2 separate regions of the Homo sapiens genome follow, and region 1 is linked to region 2. The links are contacts of gene promoters, found by promoter capture Hi-C in human tissues and cell types (Jung and others, 2019). All regions are on one chromosome and are shown on one strand. The core of a region is centred on a gene start or on the middle of the fragment in contact, and the rest is flanking DNA. Distances in the headings are between cores, read along the strand shown. Region 1 has its middle 16 kb from the start of MPZL2. Region 2 holds the start of TMPRSS4 (transmembrane serine protease 4).

The links. Contacts are between HindIII fragments. The study calls those that stand out against the background at their distance.
Region 1: a fragment that was not itself captured here is called in contact with the fragment with the promoter of TMPRSS4 in region 2 in 3 of the 25 tissues and cell types used here (heart right ventricle, mesendoderm cells and thymus).

Annotation. Positions count from the first base shown.
Region 1 is chr11:118,277,341-118,283,664 of GRCh38, forward strand. No RefSeq gene overlaps it. Among named protein-coding and RNA genes, the nearest start is that of MPZL2, 16 kb to the left of the region's middle. RefSeq lists an enhancer at 94-388. The HindIII fragment of the contact is 5,787 bases long and covers 1-4,490 here.
Region 2 is chr11:118,073,913-118,080,309 of GRCh38, forward strand. It overlaps TMPRSS4 (transmembrane serine protease 4), which reads left to right and starts at 3,166. Exons shown (of 13, transcript NM_019894.4): 1 at 3,166-3,393. The coding sequence starts at 3,391. All of the region lies in intron 1 of SMIM35 (small integral membrane protein 35), which reads right to left. RefSeq lists an enhancer at 3,021-3,616. The HindIII fragment of the contact is 5,819 bases long and covers 1-5,735 here.

The sequences.
Region 1 (6,324 bases), core at 347-2,846, 200 kb after region 2:
ATGCTGAAAAGCAGCAAAGGTGCTGAGTTAGCTAAGGTATTTCAGCCTTTCTACCTTCCCCTCCATTTCCCATTGAGGCCTGAAGCTTCAAGAGAACAAGCAGGTTGGACTTGTCAGAGTTGAGAAGCCTTTCTGAGTAGAAAGGGCAGCCAGCTGCTTGTCCAGGCAAACAGGATGTGAGTCTTCTCAGGTGAGTCAGAGCTAAAGAGGAAAGCCTTTCCTGCCTAGCTCAGTGAGGGGGTCCACCCTTAGCTTTGGAAAGGGGAAAACTCAGGGAAAAGTCCCAGCAACATCGCTCTTTTCTTGCAGTTTGTTCCAATGTTATATGCTGTCTTGAGTGTCAATATCTGCTGAGCTACATTAGCAATAACCAAGAGGAAAAGAAGCTTTTAAAGCCAAAGAAAAATTGTCATTTAAAGTTGTCACCTTGGGGACAAGCTTTTATTCTAATGATGCTGACGTTATTCCAGATATTTCTAGAACATTTTTAGAATTGCCTTAGGAGTTTGAATCATAACATTTTTCGATTTAAAAAAAAAAAACCAGGGTCTCGCTCTGTTGCGCAGGCTGTAGTGCAGTGATGCAATCTCGGCTCACTGCAACCTCTGCCTCCTGGGCTCAAGCAATTCTCCCACCTCAGCCTCCCTAGTAGCTGGGACTACAGGCACGTGCCACCATGCCCGGCTAAGTTTGTATTTTATTTGTATTTTTAGTAGAGACAGGGTTTCACCATGTTGGCCAGGCTAGTCTCAAACTCTTGACCTCAAGTGATCCACTCACCACAGCCTCCCAAAGTGTTGGAATTACAGACATGAGCCACTGCATCCAGCCTTGAGATTTTTACTGATGGCAAATCCTCATGCTTTTGAGAATGGGCTTGATTTTTGGACACATTTAAAAGTCATGTAGATCAAATCCAAAGAAAGTAAGAAAGTGAATGACCAAACCAGGCACTGATTATAAAATCATAAGTATGATGACTTGTGAAATGCATAAATGGTCCCTGAGGATCCTTTAAAAGACAGGATTCTCTTTAAAAGCTCTTTAGGCCAGGATCGGTGGCTCATACCTGTAATCCCAGCACTTTGAGAGGCTGAGGTGGGCGGATCATTAGATCAAGAGATCGAGGCCATCCTGGCCAACATGGTGAAACCCCGTCTCTACTAAAAATACTAAAATTAGCTGGGCATGGTGGTGTGTGCCTGTAGTCCCAGCTACTCAGGAGGCTGAGACAGGAGAATTGCTTGAACCCAGGAGATGGAGGTTGCAGTGAGACGAGATCACGCCACTGCACTCCAGCCTGGGCAACAGAGCAAGACTCTGTCTCAAAAAAAAAAAAACCTCTTTAAAAACTGTTTTGTGCATAACTATAATAAAGGTATAATTTTCCATTTACTTTAAGGTCTCTTATCTTATTAAGCTGGATGTATACCTTAACTGGCTCTTCTTAATTCACAGATTAAGGCCTTTCATGATCTGCCTCTGTCAACTAACCAGCCCCTCTTTCCCCACTTTCCAGGCTCCTTAAGCCTTATTCATCACTATGCCAAACTAATCACATACTTGTTCTTACCTCCACATATATATTTGTGCATATGTTCTGTCTACTTTATCCAGCTGATCAACTCTTATTTGCCTTTCAAAATTAAGTTCACATTCCATGAAGCCTTCCCTGTCCCCTGGACCTGGAGTTAATAGTTCCCTTAGCACCTTGGGACACCTTTTTTATAGCCTTTGCTGCACTGTATGGTCATTACTTGTTTACACGTCTGCCTCTACTGTAGACTGAATCCCTCCAGGGCAGGGTTCATGTCTCTGTATCCCCAACACCTAACTGTTAGGCACATAGTAGATGCTCAATACGCATTTGCTGGATGAGTGAATGCATTCTTACTGAAGCATCTGTGTGCCCCACACCTCAGTGATGCTAAGCAGTATGGAGCTCCCACTGTTGGAACCTAAAGAAGTTTACTAAGGAAGTGAAGTGACAACCTAAAACTCAGTCCCAGCTTTAACTTGGCTTATCTTTGCATCTAAGTGAAGATCATCTCTAAGACTGGGATATCTACACTGAACAAGGGCTTCCCACCTTCCTCTGTTTTCAGCCTAGGTGCAACCATGAAAGGAAAGGAGCAAATGTAATCTGTATCATAATATATTCTATTTGAACATGATTAAATTAAAACTAATTGATAATGTCGATTAAATAATAAACACTAATTAAATACTAATTGTCAGAATGTGTCTCCTACTTTTATTCACTCTTTATAAGTTTTAATTACTAAGTTAATGATCAAGAATGGTACTATGTTGGGCTGAAACCTAGGATTTGGAATATACCCATTCATTCATCTACCAAATAATGTTTAAATTGAATTTAAAAACTAAGGCTGAATAATTATAGAGCACCTGTTATATGTCTAACACTGTGCTGAAAAAAAATATATGAAGATGCCATATTTAGCTTCATGGAATTCACAACCCAGATACTAGAACCTTCCATCTGCAAAGCTCTTTGCAAAGCATTTGAATACATTGTATCATTTAATTCTCACTATTCTATTCTACCCAATTTTCCTCATCTACTTTAGATAAGGAAAATGAGGATGACAGAGATGAAACAGTTTACCCAGTTACTCAGCTCACTCTGGCTAGAAAATAAATGGAAAAATTAGGGCTGAATCTGGGAGTTCTGTCTCTAAATCCAAAGCTTTTCTCATGGGCTCACACAAAGTCAATAATTTTTTTTTTTTTTTTTTTGCTTTTTACTATGGAACATTTCAAACATATACAAATGTAGATAAAATAATATAACAAACCCCATGTCCTATCACCCAGCCCTTATTATCAGCAACCCATGGTCATTTATGTCTTTATCTACCCACCCAATATTATTTTGAAGCAAATTGAAGATACCATATCATTTTGCCCATAAATATAACTTCTGTTAAAAGATAAACTTTGGCACACTTTAAAACTTTGAAGAGTTTATTTGAGCAAACAGCAATTCATTGATCAGGCTGCTCCAAACTGGAAATGGTTTGGGCTTCGAGGACGGAGCAAGAGGGGAAGGCTCTAATAGGGTAAATGCAGAAGCAGAGCAAAGAAATTATTTGATTGGTTAAACTTCCAGAATTTCCTTATTTAGACTATCCAATAGGAAGTTAAAGACAATATAACTAATGCCCAGATGGCCTTCTGTGATTGGCTAAGTTTCTTTTAAATTAACTGCTTACAGGAAATGAGACTGAGTTAGGTTTTAGCTTGCTTAGTAGGAACTTAGTTAGAGCCTCCTCAGTCTAATGCCCCCCCCATTTAATTATTTAAATACTTCAACACCATTATCATATTTTATTTTATATTTTTAGAGATGGAGTCTTGCTCTGTCACGCAGGCTGGAGTGCATGGCACAATCAATTATCTTGCCTCAGCCTCCCAAGTAGCTGGGACCACAGGAGTGCACCACCATCCCTGGCTAATTTTTTTTTTATCTTATAGTAGAAACAGTCTGTCTATGTTACCCAGGCTGGTCTTGAACTCTTGGCCTCAAGCAATCCTCCTGCCTCGCCCTTCCAAAGCGCTGGGATTACTGGCCTGAGCTACCATATCCAGTCTCCATTATCATATTCTAAGAGAATTAGCATTTCCTAAATGTCAAATAACCAGTGTTACAATTTCCAGTTATCTCATAAATGTTATAACATGTTTTTACAATTTGTTTATTTGAATGAAGGTCCAAATAAGGTCTAAAATTTGCAATTGGTCTTTATGTTTCCTAGATCTCTCTTAATCTATGGGTTCCTTATTATCTTTTATTATTATTCCTTATTATTTTTTGTTTCCTTGCAATTTACATTTAAAGAAATTGAGTCATTTGTCTCATGGTTTTCCACAGTATTTTTTTTTTTTTTTGCCTGCATCACGAAGGTGTTGTTTAATATGTTCCTCTGTATTTCCTATAGACTGGTATTGTATTTAAAGCAGTAGTTTTCCATTTTTAGTGAGCATCAGAATCACCTGAATGATTTGTCGCAACAGGTTGCTGGGCCCCACCCTCAGAGTTTCTGATTCTGGTCTGGGAAAGTCCCAAAAGTTTGCATTTCCAGCAACTTCCTGTGTGCTTGATGCTGACCACTCCTTGAAAGCTATTGATGTGGACTGAACTGAGGCTCAATCAGATTGAAATCTGACTTTTTTAAAGCAAGACTACCTCACAGGCAGTGTTGTGGTCTTCCTCCAGGAGGAATATAGTATGTGGTTGTCTCCTTTGTGTGTTTGATGTCAGTAGCCTTTGATGCTCAGTGCCCAGATCCATTCATTCATTTGGTGTGCAAAGTGATGATCTTCTAATCATATCATCCCTACTTTATTTATTAGCTAGACTATTTCTAGAAACAGAAACTCCCTCATCTACAAAGTGACTACTCACTGGGATGGTTCATATAGAAAAGATCGATTTTGAGGCCGGGCATGGTGGCTCACGCCTGTAATCCCAGCACTTTGGGAGGCCGAAGAGGGCAGATCACGAGATCAGGAGATCTAGACCATCGTGGCTAACATGGTGAAACCCCGTTGCTACTAAAAATACAAAAAATTAGCCGGGCGTGGTGGCGGGCGCCTGTAGTCCCAGCTACTCAGGAGGCTGAGGCAGGAGAATGGCGTGAACCCAGGAGGCGGAGCTTACAGTGAGTCGAGACCGAGCCACTGCACTCCAGCCTGGGCGACAGAGCTAGACTCCGTCTCAAAAGAAAAAAAAAAAGAAAAGAAAAGATCGATTTTGAGCACAATGCATTGGTTCACTAGCATCTTCCAATGATTAGCAATGAGAGTTTTTTGTTTTTAGTGTTATTACACATAATGACATTGTGACATAATGACCAGCCATTCCCCAGTCTCTCTTCACAGGCCTCCCAATTCCCTGAGACACATGATATTGAAATTAGGCCAATTAAACCCTACAATGGCCTCTAAGTGTTCAAGTGAAAGGTAGTTAACACACCTCTCACTTTAAATTGAAAGCTAAACATAGCATTAAATATATTTGATGTGTTTCAAACAACATCATTATTATTCTTATTGATTCTCAAATTTTCTCATCTTTGGCCATCGGGAGCCTCTTCAAGTTGGAAGAGGCTCTTCCAGCTTCAAGTGCATCCTTGCAAGGTGTGTTTGCTGCATTCTTTATGAATGTTAAAGTCTGCTATAGAAAGTAAGAGAAGGAAACAAATATGGAGACTAGATGAAATTAAGTGTAGAAGCAAGTAGCTTGTAAGACGTGTTAGACCTTGGTAAGTAGAGCAGATTTATGCTGATATAAGAAGGGATGGACAGACCAAGTAGACACAAGACACAGGAAACACCAAATATTTATGAGGCACTGAATATTCACAAAAATTTAAACCAGCCATCCCGTTGTGACACCCATTCTGGCAATCTGCATCCTCTGCCTGAGATATGCAGATAAAACCCATAGCTGCCCAACAGGGTAATCGGCAAGCTACAGCTGTAGCCAAGGATTCTTGCCCTTGCCTTCCTACAATAGAGCAAGAGTGTTTGGGCTCCAGGCCCAGTCAATTTGCTGAGTCCTCTTGCTCATCCACAACTCAGGTCCTTGTAACCATCGGTGGGGAAGGCTGATGCAATAGAAAGATTCGGCATATGAGCGTTACATAACACAGAACTCACATAGGGTACTTCTTCCACCCTGTGCTAAGGGTGTTAACCTTCCTCATCTCTTTTCCATTGCTTCTTACTAAACATTTTAATTGAGTTGATAAACCAAGTGATTCAGGATCGTAATTTTGTCTGTGAGCCATTCTGTTCTGTGACCTCTGGGATAGCTTGTTATGTAATATGTTAGAAGGTTATCATTGCACCAAGGTAATTCCTCATGTGACAGTCCTTTTGACCCATATGACGAGATGTTCCAGGCTCATCTTGAACACTTCTTGCCATAGACTTAAAATCATCCGCAATTCTTCAAGGATCCCTGATTTCTTTTAGTGGGAAATGGTGTTTGAACCTACAATCTGGGCATTAAGGATACACTGCTACGAGGGTGTTAAATTATTTTTGTGACTCATCTACTGCTTTATGCTGTATAGGCAGACCTCATTTTATTGCACTTCACTTTATTGCACTTTGCAGGTATTGTGTTTTTTACAAATTGAAGGTTTGTGACAACCCCATGTAGAGCAAATCATTTTCCAACAGCATGTGCTCACTTTGTGTCTCTGTGTCATGTTTTAGTAATTCTCACAACATTTCAAGCTTGTTTATTATTATTCTATATGTCGTGGTGACCTTTGATCGTGATCTTCGGTG
Region 2 (6,397 bases), core at 1,916-4,415:
ACAACAAAGTTTTTTAAAGTGCTGCTGACACCTCTCAGAATCTGGTGTGCATAGAGCTCTCAGCTGGACGAGACCTGTTGGTCCTTAAACTGAGGTCACCTGTATGGGACCAGCCTGGGTGAGGAAGGCTCTGGCCTTCACTCACAGGGATAGGCCACTTCTTGAGGGGCTTTCTTGAAGAAAAAGCACGTCAAAGAAATATTCAGCAAAATTTACAAAAACGTATGATTGTGTGAACATATTGCCGGGCCCTTTCCCAGGGCCCTGGAAGGAACCGTGCAAGTGAGGGGCTCTGAAGCTTCAGCTTCAGGAGTTTCATGATAACTCTGCCTCGGATCTTGACACACATGCTGGAAACAGATAAGGAAAGGGAAGAAGGAAGAGAAAAAAATGTCAAAAATAAAGAGGAAGAGATAAAAGAGAAGTAATGGGAGGGAAAGAAGAGAGGAAAAACAGGAGGAGGATCTAAAGAGATGGATGGGCAAGAGAAAGAAGCAGGCAGGACAGGGCTGAGGGAGAGCTGAGGCTTCCTCCGGGAGAATGGGGGTTCTGGGCCGGGTGCGGTGGCTCACACTTGTAGTCCCAGCACTTTGGGAAACCAGAGCGAGTGGATCGCTTGAGCTCAGGGGTTTGAGACCAGCCTTGTCAACATGGTGAAACCCTGTATCTACAAAAAATACAAAAATAAGCCAGGCATAGTGGCTCACACCTGTAATCCCAGCTACTTGGGGGACTGAGGCGGGGGAATCCCTTGAGCTCAGGAGGTGGAGGTTACAGTGAGCTGAGGCTGCACCACTGCACTCCAGCCTGGGCAACAGAGGGGGACCCTGTCTCAGAAAAAAAAAAAAAAAAAGAATGTGGGTTCTGGTCCAGCTGGTTTTCCCTGGCACCTGGGAGAGGTGGGCCTCTGTTGTCTCCAGGCCACTGTGCCTCCCTCTGTAAACCTTCACCCCCACCTGCAGGCATCACAGCCACCCTGCCCAGTCCTGCTTATGTGCCTTCTTCCCGGACCTCTCCACAAACTCCCAGACCCAAATGGGAGCAGAAGCCAGGAGGGCTGAGTCATCATCCCTCCAACCAGCCATGCCCAGCAGCCTTCATGCCCAGACAGCTGCCTCTTTCCTGGTTCATCACCTGAGCACCAGGTAAAGCAATGCAAACCTGTGGGCCAGATGTTTAGCCTGGCACATAGAGGAACCAAGACAACTGAAAACGTGGCTCCCAGTGGCCCACTGGCTTCTCACTGCCCTGCTGCTGGGGAGGTGCCTGCCTGGACCATCACGGCCCTGACCCTGAGGTCACCTGAGATCACAGGCTCTTGCCTCTGCCCAAGACTTCCAACTCTCAAGGCCACCAGCCATCAGTAAGGAAGGGCTGGGGCTGTGCTGGCTCCAGAGCCCTGCAGGCCAGCTTCAGATCTCTGCTGCTCAGAGACAAGTCCAAGGCCACACTGCATTCATCAGCTGAGATTTGGCCAATAATCCATTACACAGATCCGGTATTCCTCCTGCTCAGACATCACTGGGGTCCTCCATGGGCCATATTATCCCAAACCATGAACCTGGGGCTTTCAAACACTTGTGTTCCATTCAGCCTGTTCACAAGCCTGGCAGTGTGAACCAGTAAGAGAACCAGGTTCCAGCCCCAACTCTGCCCGAAACTACTTCATGTCCATAGGCTATAGTTTCCTCAGCTGACAAATGGGAACAAAATATTGGGGTTGTTGTTGGAGAATTAAAGGGCTGATACACAGAAGCACGTTATCAACAGAAGGACAAATACACACGTCTAACCCAGGCTGGTCTCCTGGGAGGGTCAGGTCTGAGAAATGGAAGGAGATCTGGATTCATATGGAACCAGACACTAATTCATTATGTGACTTTGGGTCATTGACTTTGCCTCTCTGGAATTTAGTTTTGTCGCCCACAGAATGGGGGAACAATGTGGACAATTATCCAAGTCTCTCCCAGCAAAATATCTGTGGCTGTAAGGTTTCACCTTGCACATCCCCTGGCCAGGGGGCAGCTCCAGCTATCAGGATGTGGCAGAACGTGAATCAGAAATGATCCTGTGGGGCTGGGTGCGGTGGCTCACGCCATAATCACAGCACTTTGGGAGGCTGAGGCAGGTGGATCAGTTGAAGCCAGGTGTTTGAGACCAGCCTGGCCAACATGGCAAAACCCCATCTCTACTAAAAATACAAATTAGCCAGGCATGGTGGCGCACAACACCTGTAATCCCAGCAGCTACTTGGGAGGCTGAGGCAGGAGAATCACTTGAACCTGGGAGGTGGAGGTTGCAGTGAGCCAAGATCGCGCCACTGCACTCCAGCCTGGGCAACAGAGACTCTGTCTCAAAATAAAATAAAATACAAAAACACAAAACTTAGCTGGGTGTGGTGGCAGGTGGCTGTAGTCCCAGCTACTCGAGAGGCTGGAGCACGAGAATTGCTTGAACCTAGGAGGCGGAGGTTGCAGTGAGCTGAGATTGCGCCCCTGCACTCCAGCCTGGGGGACAGAGAGAGACCCTGTCTTAAAAAAAGAAAAGAAAAAAAGAAAGAAAGAAAGAAGGAAATGACTCCGTGGACGAGGAGACGTGGGCTCTAGCCAGAGCACCAATAGTGATTTTCAGAATATTGAACGGCTGCTGAGGCAGGGGCAGGAAGCACTAGTACATTGGCTCTGTGCAGGACAGCTTCACTTCTGGGATCCAGGGAAAGGGGGTACATCTTACCTCCCTAAGAGAAGAAACTCCCTCCTTCTCTGTGGACTTTCCAATCCTATTGCTCCACACCTGGCAATGATCTCTTTGTACTGAGCTGCAAACCCTGTCGCCCAACCCCCAGACCACTCCAACTTCCCACAACCCCAAACCAAAGCACCCACACAGTGAGAAGTCATGCACCTAGAAGGTAGGGGGAGGGGGGGCGGAAACTTCTGGCATCACCCTCAGCCAACACCCAGTTGGGTGGAAGTCATTCAGGCGGGAAGGCTTTTGTTACGCCTTAGGTGTGTCACCTGTTCTGAGGCCGAAGGTCCCATGAATGACTTCAGGTGTTGTTCCAGCCCCTAAGATAGGTGTCAGGTTACAAGACACATAATCATTCCAGTTTGGCAACTTCACTTGTAGGGCTGTTTTAATCAAGCTGCCCAAAGTCCCCCAATCACTCCTGGAATACACAGAGAGAGGCAGCAGCTTGCTCAGCGGACAAGGATGCTGGGCGTGAGGGACCAAGGCCTGCCCTGCACTCGGGCCTCCTCCAGCCAGTGCTGACCAGGGACTTCTGACCTGCTGGCCAGCCAGGACCTGTGTGGGGAGGCCCTCCTGCTGCCTTGGGGTGACAATCTCAGCTCCAGGCTACAGGGAGACCGGGAGGATCACAGAGCCAGCATGGTGAGTGTGGGGCCCTCTGCTCCCAAGACACAGGAAGGGTGGGTCTCCCCATGTAAGGCCCTTCAAGCAGCCTGAGCATCCATCAGCTGAGAATTCTGTGACACCTTCTAGGTTAAAAAAAGAGGCCACACCCAAATCCCCTCACACCCCAGCCCGGTACACGTCTCATACCCACCTGCCTTCCTCTCTTCCTCCATTGCCATGGTCCTTGGACCAGCTCACCTAAGAAGCTGAGCACAGAGCCAGGGCTGTCCTTCCCGACTATTCTTTCCTGAATCCTGCATGTTCTTTTGCCCAATGTCTCCAGGTCTGTTGGTTAGAGGTTGGCACTATTTTTCCAAGGCAGGGGGCTGTTCTGATGCCACGGTTGCCCTCTGCCACTCCCTGGGGAAACTGATTCCTTTTCTTTTTAAAGAAAAGTGTAGACTGGGTGCAGTGGCTCACGCCTGTAGTCCCAGCACTTTGCGAGGCTGAGGCAGACAGATCTCTCGAGGTCAGGAGTTTGAGACCAGCCTGGCCAGTATGGTGAAACCCCATCCGTACTAAAAATACAAAAAATTAGCCAGGCGTGGTGGCAGGTGCCTGTAATCCCAGCTACTTGGGAGGCTGAGGCAGGAGAATCGCTTGAACTTGGGAGGCGGAGGTTGTGGTGAGCCAAGATTGTGCCATTGCACTCCAACCTGGGCAACAAGAGTGAAACTCCGTCTCAAAAAAAAAAAAAAAAAAAAAAAAAAAAAAAGAAAGAAGGAAAAGAAAACAGTGCAGAGATGCCTCCAAACAATCTAGGGTGTTTGTGGTCATCTTTTACTTGGTCTCTTTTCATGCCCTCACCCTCTCTCCTCCTCCTCTGAATACCTGGAGCGTCTTCGCTGTCTTGGGGCAAAGAGAATCAACCCTATCTTTCAAGGAGGACAGCTGAGGGCCAGGGAGGGGAAGAGATAATAACTGGGTCTGAGGAGGAACCCAGGGGTCTTCCTTCTCCAGTCCTTGGCCAAGAGGCAGCAATTGCCCAGCCACCAAAGTGAAAGGGAAGGGAAGAGAGGAAAGGAGAAGCCACTGTCCAAGGGGGAAGGGTGTGACCTGCAGGGGCCCCTCGAGTGATTGTCTCCTATTCCCAACCTGAGCACTTCCCACGACACTCTTCTGAAAATTCTGGCAAGAACAATTCTTAGTGCGGTTGTAGCTGATGATCAGAAAGGGGAAGGGGCTTCCCTTTGAGCCAGGATCAAAGCACAAGCTTCCTGCTTTCCCATCCAAGGAGGCGCCCCAAAGTTTGGCCTGTGTGCAGAGACGCTGTATCCCCTGGGGCTCCCAGGAGAGGAGAGCAGCTGTGGAGTCTACCTAGCTGTGAGCTGCTTCTGGGTGGCAGGCACTGAGGAGACCTGGGGTGTCTCTTGGGGGAGCAACAGAGAAGGGAATCATTTCTAGGGCAGGTCACTAACTGCAGAATCAGAAGGCTGAGGCCAGCTCCCTGATTAGCTGTGCTGTCTTGAGGCATTCATCTTCCCGAGACTCACCTTCTCCCCTGCCCACGGAAACGATATGACCCACAACAGCCCCACGCACATGCACCGGGTTCGCAGAGATTACACAGCTAATACATGTGAGTAGGTTCTGGAAACCATGAAGCCCCGCACAGATGTAAGGACTTAGGACTAAAGAGGAGTCTGTGCTAGGAAATGACAGCTGGGTAGTACACCCAACACAGACCCTTTGCCACCAGGGAAGGAGCTGGGCATTGCTGGAGGAGCGGGGGAGGGCAGGTGGGAACACTGGTGGAGGGGTCAGGTCAGGCCTGGGGCCCCAAAGGCAAGGCAGCAGCATGGCCAATCTCCACGGTGTGGTCAAGGAAGTTTCTAGCCCCGGAGCTAGCCATTATACTGCCTGTGCTGAATAACCCTGTCATTAAGCCTGTGCTTAATAACCCTTGACAGCCATAGCTCCCAGCCCTGAGGGGAGGATGGGATCTCCACACCCAGGCTCAGCCCTCCCTTCCCTTCCCTTCCATTCCCTACCTCCTTCCATCCCCACAGGCCCCTTTCTGTGACAGTCAGGGTCCTTTGAGCTGCTGCGTCTTAATGACAGCTCTCCCAAGAACCCATTAAGCTGGGTATTCCTAGGGAGAGCTGGAGCAGGGACTCAGGCCCAGGCAGAGGTCAGAGCCCAAGCCCTGTCCCCGAAGGAAATGTGTCCCATGCTAACTACTCCATAGCTGAGGCCTGGAGGGAAGTCAGGGACCCTGGGACTGGTTATCCTGGCCTTGACTCATTACTGTTCCGGAGACCTAAACGCACCCTGAGCCACCAGACGTGGGTGTTAACACCTGAGGTCAACCCCCTGACGCTTCCGGCTGCTCTGGAGGAAGCTGGTCCTCCCTCCCACCTCCTGTTTTCCGTGCCAGCCTGGTACAGAGTCAAGGGGCTTGGCTGGGCTTGGCTGGGCTCAGAAACGTGGCAGTCAGGAGCCAGCCTGCGGGCAGCGGGGTGCTGGGAGCACTGCAGGGTCCACCCTGACTGGGGCACAGAATCCAGAAGCCCACTCGGCCCTGGCAGTGCCATCCTAGGCTCTGAGGTGGTAAACTGAGCTGGGCAGTGGGAAGGTCCTAAAGGGCAAGACAGGCAAGGAGGGGCTGCTTGCTTTGCCTGCTCTCCTGGATCCTTTGCCACCTGGGTGACAGGGCCTGGTGTCACTGTAACCACTCCCCCCCCACCAAAAGAAGCTCCAGCCAGACACCATTTAATCAGCCCCTTTCATTGGCCAGCCTCTAAATGGGGCTGGGGATTGGGAGGACCCAATACCTAGGTTTCACCCTGCAGGTGCTCAACACAGAGTGTGACAAGTATAACACCAGCAGTGGTTACAAGGTACCCCTGGAGCTGAAAAAGCAATAGATTCTCTCTAGGGAAGTCGGGAAATTGTCCTGGAAGAGAAACTATTTGCATTGGACTCTGAAGGATGGGCAGGCTCTCTCCAGGCAGGGAAAGCAGGAAGGAGCTCCAGACAC